Linked DNA regions of Homo sapiens: region 2 is linked to region 1. The links are contacts of gene promoters, found by promoter capture Hi-C in human tissues and cell types (Jung and others, 2019). All regions are on one chromosome and are shown on one strand. The core of a region is centred on a gene start or on the middle of the fragment in contact, and the rest is flanking DNA. Distances in the headings are between cores, read along the strand shown.

Evidence for each region. The method cuts DNA at HindIII sites, captures the fragments that hold promoters and counts their contacts. A contact is called where the count stands out against the background at its distance.
Region 2: a contact is called between a fragment that was not itself captured here and the fragment with the promoter of NPM3 in region 1, in 3 of the 25 tissues and cell types used here (heart left ventricle, lymphoblastoid cells and mesendoderm cells).

The regions. Positions count from the first base shown.
Region 1 is chr10:101,779,179-101,786,364 of GRCh38, forward strand. It overlaps NPM3 (nucleophosmin/nucleoplasmin 3), which reads right to left and starts at 4,268. Exons shown (of 6, transcript NM_006993.3): 1 at 4,095-4,268; 2 at 3,661-3,746; 3 at 3,300-3,419; 4 at 3,080-3,173; 5 at 2,549-2,676; 6 at 2,147-2,454. The coding sequence starts at 4,212. The coding sequence ends at 2,558. OGA (O-GlcNAcase) reads right to left here. Exons shown (of 16, transcript NM_012215.5): 16 at 5,272-7,186. It also overlaps a transcript of FGF8 not described here. RefSeq lists a promoter at 1-2,128, enhancers at 1-499, 500-1,397, 1,038-1,167, 1,245-2,095, 3,196-3,835 and 1 more and a silencer at 738-817. The HindIII fragment of the contact is 4,177 bases long and covers 1,129-5,305 here.
Region 2 is chr10:101,657,353-101,664,538 of GRCh38, forward strand. The region is part of intron 5 of FBXW4 (F-box and WD repeat domain containing 4); the gene reads right to left. Among named protein-coding and RNA genes, the nearest start is that of FBXW4, 34 kb to the right of the region's middle. The HindIII fragment of the contact is 6,704 bases long and covers 1-5,953 here.

The DNA of each region.
Region 1 (7,186 bases), core at 3,018-5,517:
ACCCGCCGGAGACCGCAGCTCGCTCCGACGCGCGCTTCCTGCGCCGGGCGTTCAAAGCGCCGCGGACTCACTGCCGACCGTTCAAATGCAAATCGCCGAGACTACGTTAAGCACTTCGGCCACTGTCTGGGAGTCGTCTCCCTCGGCCCCCAAATAGAAGCCTGCCCTTCCTCCAGCAGTCGGCAAACCCCGGCGTATGCCTTCATCCCCCAGGGGTCTGAGGCCACAGTGAGCCGGCAGCGCTCCTACTGTGCGCTGAAGGGCAAAGAAGAGGGCTCGAGGAGAGGCTGGGGCGAGGAGAGAGGAATAAACCTTGCCCAGCTGTGTCCGCGGGGCGCCCCAACCGGCCGAGAAACTCTTGGGCCGAGAGGCTGATGTGGATTGGGCCCCCACTGCGGGCAGGAGCGTGCTCGGCGCAGGCCCGCGCCCACCGGGAGACCTACCCGGAAAACCGGCGAGAAATGCAAGGAGCGATCAGTGGCATCGCGGGGGGTGGGTGGGGTAAATATTGGGGCGGAGCCGCGCAGGGGGTAGATGGGTCAGCTAGGGAGGCCTCCCAGGAGAGAGGACTCAGCCAGTCTCCCGCTCCTCCTGCCAAGCACGTGCCGAGGACTTTGGAGGCTGGGGCCAAGAAGAGGAAGGGAAAGAGGAGTGAGGGCCACAGCCAGACTTCCCCACTCCAACTCAAGTCGTTCGAATGAATGAATGAACGTATGCACGCATGCATGCAAGCCTCAGTGGCATTCCCCCGCCTTCCGCCCAAGATTCGGCCGCCCAGAGCAGTGGCGGGACTCGGAGGCCCCGGCCCCACGGCGCCCGCCCGGAGCCTCTAGAGGCCAGGGAAGCGGTACGACCACGAGCGGCTTCAACCTCGCCCGCCAGAGGGCGCCAGCCCCGACTTCCCTCTCCCTGCCGACCGCGCTCCGCAGCGAGACCCATGGTTCCCAGCCAGGCCGCCCCTCCGCCGGGCTCCCCAGGGAAGCATTTTTAGCAGCGCCCTCCTGGATCGGAGAAAGGCGCCTGCGACCCAGATCACCGCAACACAGACGGGCGTCATCTCCCTTTGTCCTCAACTTGAGGAAGAGGGAGGTTGGAAACTGGACCCCTAGTTCCTCACCACGGGCTGGGGGAGAACCTCCTTCACTAGGGATGCGCTGAAGAGCGTGCGGGTCGGTACTGCGGACGCAAGGTCTTCAAAGCTGACCTCACCTGCCCCAGAACCACCAGCCCGCGATATCCCGGGGCCCCTCCCCCTTGACTAGAGGCTGGGAGTGGGAGTTGGCCTGACCCCCATCAGGCCCTGTTCTCTGTCTATCCTCAGCCTGTCTGGCCCCAGGTTGTCTGGGGAGGCAATGTTTTGTTTGTTTGTTTGTTTGTGGGCATTGACAACCCTCCCCCCACAACCAACACAGCTGCTGAACTGCTGACCCCAGAGCTGGTCACATACACTCATCCTCAAACCAGGTGTGTCAGTTCTTCCTGGCACAAAGGCAGCCAAGTGCCAGAACTACCTGATTCCAGGCACCAAAGACCCCCAGACCCCACGGTGTGTGGGGGACAAGAATCCCTTAGTCCAGGAGGCAAATTCCCTGGGGCCCCTTTCTGCCCCCATATGCCAGGCCACCCGGATTCTGGTTTCCCTGTCACCCAATCTGGCCAGTCCCCTCCATCTGGCCCCCGGAGTCAGGTTTCTCTAAGGGCCCAGCCCTGCTCAGAGACAGCCTGCAAGGCTCAAAGGAGGAGCGAAGCCTGGTCCCGCCCTGCCCTCACAGGCCCTCTCTGGGCCAGAGACCCTCGTGGGGCTAGGGACGCGCATTCCTCAGGCTGCCTAAGCTCGCTTATCTGCCCCCCTGCCCATCAGCCGAGTGCTGACAGAGGCCCAGACCCCTTGTTTGGATGCTGATAACCTCCTGCGATGACCCTCTCCCACCTGCAGAGACTGGGAATGGGCTGAGTGTTGGGAGGTCCCCTTCCAGCAAGGCAACTGGGGCCCAGGCCCCAGGTCCTAGCCCAGGGCCATGAGGGTAGAGGATCCCACAGTTCTCCACCCTCCCCCAGGCCCAGGGCCACGCTGGGTGCTTCCACAGTGCCACCTGGCGGTCCCTAGGGAAACATCACCCAGCACAGGAAGAAGCCACACAAGAGCTGCAAAAACTCCACACCACTTTATTTCAACCTTTATCCAAAAATGTAAAAACTATTAAAAATGTGTAGCTCTGAGCTTCAGGCACTAACCTCCAATTCTCACAGGCAGGTGGGAAGGGAGGCCCCGGGCATGGTGAAAATCAGAAAACCACGGCTGTGTGGAGCACAGGCCCTCTCCTAGCACCAAAGACCCAAGTCCCTCCCACCCAACCCCCACCCAAGCTCTCCTCTTCAAGGAAGAAATATTTACAATTGTTGAAACTTGTCAGGGAACAGGGTGCATGGCGGTGCATGGCACATGGAGCTGACCTGAAAAGAGGAAACAAGGAATCAGCATTTAGGCCCTCACCTGCTTCTCCTGCCCCTTCCCAGAGCCTGCTAGGCACTTCTCCCCGCAACTCACCTAGGAGGGCTAGGGCCTGCCCCCCTGCTTTTTGGCAGGAAGGATGGGGCACAGCTCAACTTCTTCCTCATCACTGTCCTCTTCCTCTTCCTCGCTCTCCTCCTCAGAAACATCATTGCTCATCGTAACTGGTGGACACACAAGCAGTAGAAGGATGGGGTGTTAAGACCAGACCGTTTCACACCGCATGCCATTTCTTCACGCCGTGGTGTTAGGCTTACAGGGACCATGACCTCCCAGTGCTTATGGGCTAGGTGGGAAGAACCTCAGACCCTAAACTGGGTCACAAAGAGCCAAAGGAGTCTTCATTATTGGAGCTGGAGAAGTTGGGCCATGTTCCATGGAGGAGGTAGGCTTGAGTAGACGGAAAGGAGAGGGCATGTCATGCACAGGGCACAGCGTGGAGGGCACACAGACCTGTACAGGGCTGCACTGGGAGATGAGGGTGGGATGGGGCAGGAGTGCGGAGTGGGGGAAGCCTGATGGGAGAGTCCACTGGAAGCAAAGGAGAGGGCCCTCCCCTCTTCTCACCAATCTGGTGCCGCCCAGTGATCCGCACAGGGCCAGAGCCCGACTTCAGGCGGAAGGTTACAGGTGGTTGGAGCTGGAAGTCATCCAGACTGAGCTGGGAGGAAGACAAGGATGAAGGCCTGGCCCACTCCTAGCCCACCCCACACTGTAATGAGTGCTAACGTCCTCAATCCCCTCACCACCACCACCACCACCACCAAGGCAGAGCTGGGGAACTCACCATGGGTTGGCAGGACAGCTTGAGGTTGGCCACAGGGACTGCGATCTCCTGATGGTCATGGTTCCGGGCCACAACTTCTACCACATTACACTCGTCTTTGGCTCCCTCGGTGAGGCAGAGCTGGGAACGGTACACAGGGCCTCAGGGTCTCCTCAAGTGAGGGTTGACACCACAACTAAAGGCATCTACCCTAGCACCTGCCCAGCCTCAGAGGTCCCGGTTCACCTGGCCAGGGGAGCCGCCCATGCCGGGGGGTTAGGCTGAGGATGTGTCTCCAAGTAAAGGGGATCCGGAGGTTGGGTAGAGACCTATATTGCCTGCCTGGGCTTATTCATTAAAACCCCACTCCCCTGCCCCTCACCATGGTTAGTGCCAGCACGTGCTCCGCATCATCCTCTTCCTCTACCTTAAAGGTGAAGGAGCGGGTGTGGCCGGAGAGCTCACAGCCTGGTAGAAATAACAGTGAGTATGCCTGAGCGTGTGTACGGGGCTGGGCAGCGGGGGATGTCACCAACCCGCCGTCACGTGTAACCTTGGGCGGACGGGTCATTTACACGTCCACCTCCGTCTCTTCTCTCAGAACACCTGGGACGCTCTGCCGTGGGCCCCGCCCAACACATCTGGGGCAGGGATCTCGCCACCCCCTTTGGCTGTGCGTGCGAGGCCCCCTCTCCTGCGGGAACAGCGAAGCAGCCCTCCGCCCACACCCACGCCTTGAAACCCTCCGCATTCCCGCCTCACATCCCTACCTCTTACCGCCCCAGTACCACCCTCAGCCTCTCCCTTCACTAATACCGAAGAAAAAACTGTCCATAGTGACCGGGGCCGGGACCCGTAGGCCCCCGACACCCCCGGCCCGCGTTCGGCTCTCCTGACTCAAAAACGCTAAGGCAGCTGCAGTACCGGCGGCCATGCTGTAAGAGCCTTCTTCAAACTCCGCCCCCGACACGCACAAAGCCGGGGACCCTCGGCCAGTTCCGGCCCCGCCCATTAAAGGAGACGCACAGTCCTGGAAAAGAAAAGGCGCCGAGACCCCGCAGCCCTACCCGGAGCCCGCAGCTTCTGCTCATATTTTATCAAGACCGAAGAGAAAGGAAGTAACATCACAGAAGAATGGATTTGGGGTTTATGTTAACATCCTTGCTCATTTCCACGACCATGAGGGTGTCCACTTCCCCAAGCTCCTCGCTCTGTGTCGGAAGAGTGTCTCCCACTCTTCCAACCCAGGGTAAGCTTTCGTTAAAGGAGTTATAGATATAAAAATGTAAACCCTTCTTACTCCTCCCAGCAAAGGTGGGGTTCAGGGCAGTGCTTTTCTGCTACAAGCAAAGGAAATGCACTCAGATTGTCTTTGCCTCAAGAGAGCCGAGGAGCCTTAGGAATTTCCATCCCAACACGTCTGTCCTGTCTGTCCTCTCGGCTAAGCCTCTCTTAATTCTTCCTGCTCTAAAGACCCCGCAACTTGCTATGCCTTCACTGAGACTTAGCTGCTGGCACTTGCTAGCAGAGGACTAGTTAGCTCATGTGTGTTGGCTGTTCCTGGCCCACCCACGCTTTTTGAGCTTTTAATTCCAAATCATCCAGGAGTATCTTTGCGCCGTGGATTATTTTGTCAGTTTATGCTACTCGCGCCATCTTTCGCCTTTTAAGAATCAGGCAAACTGTGTGCTTTCTATCCTAATAGATGGCAAAACTCAAACTAGAGGCCCTATTTCACATCCAGGTTATAACTGTGGCAAGAGGGTGGGGTGGCTTGGCTAAAAACTAGTCTACTTTTCTTAGCTCTTGTCTTAATGAAAATCTGGAAGTCTTACTGGTGATGGAGGTAGGGGAGGGCTGCCTTCAAGATCCAATCTCTAACTTGGAACAGCTGTGGAGAGGAGAGAATACCTGCTTGTAGGTGAGGCATGAAAGAGGAGAAAAGGGAGGGGGCAGACAGGAAATAGATTCACACAATACAACACGACAAGCATTCACTTCAAGTTTTATTTTGCCTCTTGCATGGTCTTTTACAGTTCGTTTTCTACAGGAACTGAGCTCTGATCCAAACAATCAATAAAAATGTAATTCCAACCTTAATATTCATAACCAGGAAATAGCATAGCACTTCATGATCCTAGAGTGATGAAAGCAAGACCAGGGCATCTGTTTCACAGTCACCTGTGACCAGACCAGCCAACATGATTACTAAAAGCCAAGATAAAACCAAAAGCAAACTTGCTAAAAAATCCTGAATTCCATGAGGTTAACTCTGAAATCCTCCAAACAAAATGCTAGAATTGTCCACTAGTGTTAAGACGAGAAAACTGAGGAAAACTCAGCTGTCTTACTATCTGGTAAGAGTCTTCCCTTCATCTCAAGCCCTCAAAAATGCAAACTTGGTTCCAGCTTTACAACATACCATATCCTTCTATCGGTTAAAGGTTTCTAACCTAAAAACCTTCTCTCCTTTCTTCTCACCTATTTAGTGCATACTCAAAGGCTTTGGTTGGAAGTCACTAGGTACCACTAGGTACAATGCTTTAGGGCTCTCTCAAAGCCCACAATGGTGGAGTTCTGTGAAAGAAAACTTAAGTTTCTTTCTCTTTACCCCTCTCCCCTCACTCAGCTCAAAGTTAAACAGCTGATGCAAAACTACAGAGAAGCAAGATAACAAAATACTGTTATCAATCTATGGAGAAATCAGCCAGCCATGATGAAAAAATGAGTCCTGCCGACTATCTGCCAGCTTCATGCTCAGAACCCTTAAAAACACAGAATCTAAATTAAAATACATGAAGCTTTCACAATCCGGTTAAAGGAAAAAGGTAACTGTAAATAACTGGTTAAAGTGTGCTCATTCATTCAGAAATTAGATACAAACATGCAAGAATTAAAGACTCTGATTTAATAAAATCAGTAGTAACAGGTCTTGAGATTAAACAACTGACCTGAGGGCAAATGGGACCAATCAGTCCCTGAACCCTACCTGACATGTCAAATCCAACATTTCACATGCTGACCTAATATTGAGGTTAATTTCCAGAAGTAACTGCACTTTTCAACAGATTAAGTCCTACAAAATTAGGCTCTCGTACCCCAAATGGTCATGGCCTACGCCTAGGTGGGAGGCACTTTAAAAATAATAAAACTTCAAAAAGAACAAAAACAACCCCAAACCCAAAGACAAAAGTAAAGAAAATCCACTTTTCACTGGTTTACATTATTCAAAGTGCCATTCTGAACCAACACCCTTTCATTTATAGAGGAAAAAAATTTACAAAAACAGTAAACACAAAGGATAGTCAGGTTACAGCTAGTTTATATACAAAGAAATTTACAAGTTTGTCAATTGTAGGCTTTTGCCACAAACAAATGCACATTTGTCCCTACAAAGTACAACATGCCTGAACCAACAGTCATTACAGGAGACAATTGGCCACGGCTTTACAAAAAGCAGAATAACTGCCCCAAATTGAAATTATTTATTCAGCTTAAACTAATGCCACAACCATCCCACTTGGAATCACTCCACCCTGACACTTCTGAAACCCACTCTTTCTTTCTTTCATCTCTGCCATGTCCCCTAAGACTGAGAGGCATTTCACTCAATAAACCAAGGAAGATGACAGATGTTATCTTGATTACTCTCAGGTGAGAAACGCAACCACACTGGATGCAGAAAATAGTGCTGACTACATTTATTGAAGACTCTCTCCCTGTATAAGCCCATGTAAAAGGTCTCAGCACCTAACACAAGACTCAAAAAGGAAGCCCACATCTCTCTTTCATACAGGATTTGCTGCAATACTATATTCTTCCAACCAGTGAGTAGTCTCAAAGTGTGATGGGTGAGTTTTACATAGTCTTCTTTGTTTCGAATCCAATTGGCTGATTTGTTACCATTC
Region 2 (7,186 bases), core at 1,352-3,851, 120 kb before region 1:
CCAGGCACGGTGGCTCATGCCTGTAATCCCAACACTTTGGGAGGCCAAGGTGGATGGCATCACCTGAGGTCAGGAGTTCGAAACCAGCCTGGCCAACATGGTGAAACCCCATCTCTATTAAAAATACAAAAATTAGCTGGGTGTGGTGATGCTTGCCTGTAGTACCAGCTACTTGGGGGGCTGAGGCAAGAGAATCACTTGAACCGGGGAGGTGGAAGTTGCAGTGAGCTGAGATCATCATCACGCCACTGTAGTCCAGCCTGGGCAACACAGCGAGACTCTGTCTCAAAAAAAAAAAAAAAAAAAAAAAAGCTCACTATCTGAAACTTCTAAAGAGTCTTGTTCAAGAAACTGCTAGAGAGGCACAGGGATTAGCAGATGTCCAATCCGTAGTCAGAGACCTTTTAGTACTAGTCTGAAGGAAGAGCCAAAAATATTCATTGATCTGCTGATGCATGTATTCTTTATTGTCATCATGTGTAAAATTCTAGTCAGCAAAGCAAAATTCAGTATCAACACAACCTTTATGATTCATAGGGTCTCTATAGCCAGCTTCCCACATCAACAGTATCAACATATTCTACTAGTGTACAACATGGTGCCTATTCTCTTTCTCCATGGTATGAGGAAAATTCCCTAGCTCTTAATCCCAAGCTTCTAACTGCCAAATGGCACTACCGTAATGATGAAACTCACTAAGACTCACTGATTCAGAGAAACTGTCATGGGCAACAGAATTCCTATTCTTGGGCCTTAAGCCCATTATCAAGTGGAGCCACGTGTGATTGTCCTGAACTCAGAGAAGAAATATAGCTGGCACCATGTACTGCCGCTTGGAAGTCCTGGGGACCAGGACTCTGGTACATAGAAAGGGAGAGGGAGGCCTATTTAAAAATAAAAAAAATGGTTTGAGGCCGGGCATGGTGGCGCACATCTATAATCCCAGCACTTTGGGAGGCCAAGGCAGGTGGATCATAAGGTCAGGAGTTCAAGACCAGCCTGCCCAACATGGTGAAACCCCGTCTCTACTAAAAATACAAAAATTAGCCAGGCGTGGTGGCATGCGCCTGTAATCCCAGCTACTCAGGAGGCTGAGGCAGGACAATTGCTTGAACCCAGGAGGCGGAAGTTGCAGTGAGCCGAGATCGCGCCACTGCACTCCAGCCTGGGCAACAGTGCAAGACTTCGTCTGGGTGGCAGGGGGGAATGGTTTGAAATGAAAAAGAAAATGAGGAAGGTAAGACTTGATTCTAGATACTGAAATCTGAAAATCTGCTCCAAGTGGCCTGAGAGCCACCTAATTGCAGGAGGATGGAGTGATCCTTCTACCTGTGATATGACCCCCTCCACATAAAAACATACATTCTGTTACTAATCCAGCCACAACCTCATTATTGCCTTTTTTACTCATTCTCATTAGAAACCCCTACCCAGCCCCTAGTCTACTTACAAGAGTAAGCTCCATTGGCTCAAAAAACTAAAAGCACAGATTTTTCATGAAGATCCCTCTTTTGACTGATCTGAGTGTTACAGCTAACAGGTGGGGAAATCTTCTTAAATATACGAGTATTATCATGACAAGGCCACTGGAACGGATCAGTGCCATAAGTCAGACAGGGCTACAAGTTTCCGCTCTACCATCAGGTTCCTCTTTAGCCTTGACAGATCAAACCCCAAGCCGAAGCAGGCTATAGAGATCAGTTCAGTCTCCAAGCCAAAGGTCTTCACAGTGAGGGACCAAAGCAGCCCTGGCTGGGCCTCTGTCGGCCCGTGTCCCAGATTAATCACCACCAGGAGGGGCCTGGACACCAGCATGCAATCTGAGCCCAAGCAGCACCTGCAGAGGGGTTGCCCCAGCACCTCCCTCACTCCCCTTCGGCAAGACCCCAGGGCATGAGGGTGTCCACCTGTTCACAAGGTTACCTGGCATAGAAGGGCAAAACACTCAGCCATCTTGAACCCTGCAGATAAGTCATGGATGGTTTGAGTGGCTTAGTGGAGGAAGGAGGAAAGATGCAGTGACTCGTGCAGTAAAGTCCAGGCTCCAAGGGAAAGGAAACTCTCAGCCTCTGAACAGAAAGAGAGAAAGGTCCCAATGCTCCTCTCTTCACTGTCCAGAGAAGAAAGCTACCTAGAGACCAGCAGTGGGAAAACTAAGCCCTCAGAGGTTATGAAGCAATGAGATGCTTCATGTGTGTCTAGTACACATTCTTGTCATCTACAGATCAACAGGGTGCTGATGGGAAGGAGACCAGAGCAGGGATGTCTTTTCAAAACCTCCCCAAATGCTGCCAAATATTTCTGTGTGAAAGGAAGCTCAGAAACCTGAGGTTGTAGTAGAGTTTCTTCTGAATACATAGATCTGGGAGAATAGCTTTATCAAATTCAATCAGTAAGCTATTTCCAACAAGGTACATGCAGAGCTAGTATGTATGGTATGCATACACATATCCATGTTAGAATACACTTTTTAGGACCAAAGGACCCTACTGTAATTACAAATTCTCAGATGGTAATCCCATTTATTTTATTACTTCTCCAAGAGTCAGTGGGGTAGGTGGAAGTATTTGTGAGGCTAAAATATAATAATAATAATCAAAAGGAGGAAGATAAGCATGGAAATCTGTATCTTAGAATAGTCTGTCCCCGGCCCTAACTTGTAATATAAGGAGAAATCACTTGAATGGACTGCACCCTTTCCTACCTGCCCCATGGCCCAAAGGAAGGAAGGGCGGGAGGGGTCGGAGTCAGATTGAAGTGTGTGTCCCTTGAAGAGCTGAGAAAGCACAGGTCAGATAAGAGGAGAAAGAGCTCCTACACAGCACCTTCATTTGAGGAGTAACACCGACATCCTGACTATTACATCTTGTACCTCCAAAACTCCAGCTCCAGGAATTCCCTTTGAACCTCCGACTGCAACACAGATTAGGATACAGCAGTGGCTACAATTACACACTTGCTTGGGAAGTTGGGTTGGGAGGGGGGGTGGGTGCTGCATGTGACAGGCCATGAAAGGTCCCTGCCTATAAAACAGACTGAAAAACAAACCCTTAATTTAAATGTTAATGAAAGTGCTGTGGAGACATCAGAGGCTTCCCGGCTGCTCAGAGAACAGCTACACCAGCCACAGAATTTATGGCTCCCCTTCACCCTCCCGCCTCCCTCTCTGCCTCATCACCCACTGAAATTTAAAGACAGAAAAAAAAGAAAACTAATTTTAACATTAACTCCATGCTTCCACTTTGGGATGTGATTGCTAAATTATCTGTTGGCAGAACGGTGATCAAAGGTGGAAAAACACAGGCACGTTGCACACACAACCCAGAAAAGTCAGCAGCAGCTAAAGCAGGAAAATTCCCATTTCCCTTCCTGATGAGCAGAGTGGAAGAAAGAGTGGTGCAGGTAGGGACTGGAGCCAGGAGGTGTAGGCAGTGGGAGGAAGAGAAAGATGACTGATCCGTCCAGCGTGCTCCCAAGGCCCTGTCTCAACCTCATCTGAGAACTTACCACACTCTACTACCTATTTTACTTGTCGGTCTCTCCCATCAGACTATGCTGTCTAGTTCACTGTTGTCTCTCTAGTGACCAGAACATGGTAATGCTTAAGGAGTATCTGAAGAGAGAAAGACAGAGAGTGGAAGGTGGGTATTGAGGAGGAAGGGAGAGAGAAAGAAAGACAGAGACAGAGATGGAGAAAGAAAGAATTTAAACACTAGACTGAGGGATAGAAATGCATCCCTGTTAGCAGGGGGCCAAGTCTGGACACATCAACTCTGTATCCACAGTATTCAGCCGTCTGCAGGAGCCTCTGCTTCTACTTGTAGGGTTTCATGTAAGTCGGCTCTTGACAAGTGGGCCAATCGTGCTGGCCAAGGAAGGAGCTGCTCCCACAAATGGGTTCTGGGCCAGCCAGGGCTCGGAGAGTGCTGGTCTCAGCCCAGCAGCTCAGCACATGAGCCTCCCTGTGCCTATCCTGCCCTGGGTAATGGCAGAAATCCAGGGTCTTGAGGAATTGAAACCCACCCCTGTGGTATTTGGTCCTTGCTACTGATGGATATGACTGTCTGAGAGGCTTGCATATGCATGGGCAATGAACTCCAGGGTGGAGGGCACTGTACTGAGATTTAGCAGGACCTGACTCCAAATCAATGACATCCCCACACTGATCCCTTTCCAATTTTAGCTTGCTGCCAGTTGAACCAGTGGGCCCACCTAGAATTACCTGGAGCTTCCATCTTTCTCCGGGTGTCATGACGCCCCTTCTAGCCATGCCAGCCCTGGGCCCTCCATGGTGTCTTTGTCCCTGCAACTCTCTCATCCAGGGCACCACAGGCAAGAAGCTCCCTTCTCTACTCTGCAGTTTCGCAAAGGGGGACACCAAGCCACTCTTTGACTAGCTCTTCAGGTCTTCTTTCCCTAGACAAGACCCAGAAGAAACTACCCACTCTGCCCCTGACCCTGGGAAAGGAGAAGAGAGAGGTCCCCAAGTCAGCTACAGTCCACGCCATCAGGAGGACCAGCTACAATGCAGAGCACTATAGTCATCCACCTGAGTTTTTCCTCGAGTTATCAAGGTCAAGCATCCCCTTTACACCCAGCTGTCCACAGCCAGCCAGAAAAAGAAAAACTCAGAGGCACAATCTTTACTTTTGATTCTTCTTCCCCTAGAAGTACTCAGCGAGTTATGAAGTCCAGGGCCAAAGGACTGCAGCACCACTGGCAACCAAAAGAATCTGAACTGCAAGTTGGCTGCCTCCTTTTCCAATCTTTCAAACCTCTCTGTCAGAGAAAACTCCAGATGCAATTACCTTTCACTAAAGAAAGATGTATTTCAACAGGCCGCTGAATATGCATCTACCACACACACAACACACAGTAAACCCTGTAGCTACTGGGAACAAACACCCTCCTTTCCCCAAAACCCACCCGCTTACCGAACAGTACACAGTGATTGCTTTCCTTCCAGACGCTCCCTCACCTCTGGGAGAAATGAAGCAAGAAGGGGCAGCTCCTCCATCAAAACCCCCCAGAGGCTGCAACTCACTTTACAAATTTGAATCGGTACATTTCATGCAGACTTGGACTAATCCCCTCAAAAACAAACAGGCCACCACAGCAAGCAAAGTTACACAAAATTATATTGTATATTTAATAACACAGCTAAGTCAAGTTTCTACACCTATACCACTCATATATTTCCCTAATGACAGAAGCGGGAGAGAAGGGATTAAAACCCAAGTGTCATGGGAAGCCTTCCTGACCACACTCTCTCACACGATAGCAAGTGTCCTTTGGAGACAGGGAAAGGGTTTTGCTAAGCACCTTTTTTTTCTTGGAGGGCAATACATATGGTGTCTGCAGAGGGACGAGGAGCTGTGGGCGCCTCTCCCTTCCCCTCCCAGGCAAACAGGGTATGTAGATCTGTAGATTCACTTCACCACATGCCCCCCATGGGTGGCTTGGAGGGGACCCTGAAAGCTGAAGATCTATATGCATTCACACTCCTGGAATGGTGCAAGCATTCACAGCTACCTGAGTGAGCCCAAGCCTCAATCATATGCTGCCTTCTCCCACCACTCCCTGTCTCAACTCTGGCCTTCAGGAAGAGAGAATGTTCACAGGTCCCCACAGAGCCTTTTATGGGCCACAGCTACCATCCAAGATGCTGGTGAATAAGGCACAGCAATGACAAAAGGCCTGCTTGTCCCTCAGCACACAGGACATGGGAACAGGCTAGGGAACTGGGTACAAACTACTCCTCTTCTGCCCCATTCCACATGTGGCCCTGCATTGATCTTCCCTGGGCCTCAATTTTTGCCTTTCCCCAGAAGAGAATGACACTCCCCCTTCCTCCCCAACCAGGGACAGCCTAGGTTAAGGCACTTAGTATAATCTGGCAATCATTACAGCCATGTGCCTATCATCTCCCCACCACTGAATAAGATCCTTGGGGAAGCTGACACGTATCAAGTGTTCAGTAAATACACAAGGAGTGAGGTGAAAGGGTGAGAAGGGAAGAGATGGAAAGTCAAAGGGAATGAAGTTAAGTGTTTAGTATTTCTACATTTCCTCATACTTTAGTATTTACTGTATTCAGCTGGAAATAATTTTTAAATGGCAATAAAACATATTACACATTTTTTAAAATCTGCTTTTTGGCCAGGCATAGCTGCTCACACCTGTAATCTCAGAACTTCAGAAGGCCAAGGTGGGAGGATCACTTGAACCCAATAGTTCAAGTGATATATAATTGTGCCACTGCACTCCAGGCAAGACCCTGTCTCAAAAAAAAAAAAAAGAGTCTGCCCTTCTGTGTTACTCTTGGGAAGTTGCTCAGAATTCCATGTGACCTCAGGAGGTTGTATCTCTGAGGCCTGTGAGCTGAAGGTATTCCTGCCCCATAATTATACTCAGACATATGCCCCTCCACCCCAGGCACGCCTCCAGCATCTCATTCCTGGGCCATCTTAACCTGTCCTTCTATCAATCATCCAACAACTCCAGGTGAGACCTCCTCTACAGGAGAAGGGCTTCTTTTCCAGGTCATGAATCTTAAAAACAGGATTACCGGTGTTGAACAATAAGATGGGTAGAAGGGTATGCGAGAGGCAGAAGAAAAGGTCCTTGCCTGCCACTTTCCTTTGGAGCCTGCTGGTTCTCCTTCTGTGTTTTTTGACTGACTACACATGGCTCTAAGCACATAACCAGTACTAAATATGATCCTCCATGACTCTTTACAAATCAAGAACTCAAAGTAAAGTAAGAAAGGAAAGAAGACATTTGAACACAGACAGATACTTGCTTTCTCTCAGTCGTGAGGACCTCAAATTAAGCCTCTGGATTGAGGTTTCATGTTTCATACAAGTGCCTGAGTACATACATAAGAAGATAAGGTAGAAAAGTCCCAGCATCAGAGATAAATAAGATTAATATATCTGACAAATTATTTTAAATAGAAGAAAGAGATAAATTGAGAAAAGAGCTGTGCTAGGTCTCCTAACTGTCCAGGTTCCTCCTAACTGCATAAGGGAGCAACAAAGGGTTGAGAAATTGGCAGGTAAACCAGGAGTACCTGCCCTAGGGCCAGTACACTGGCTGCCACATCCCCTCATATTTTCCATGAGGAGTCCAGGGTCATATCATATTAGTGACACTGACAACCATACTCAACAGGAATGGTGGCAGG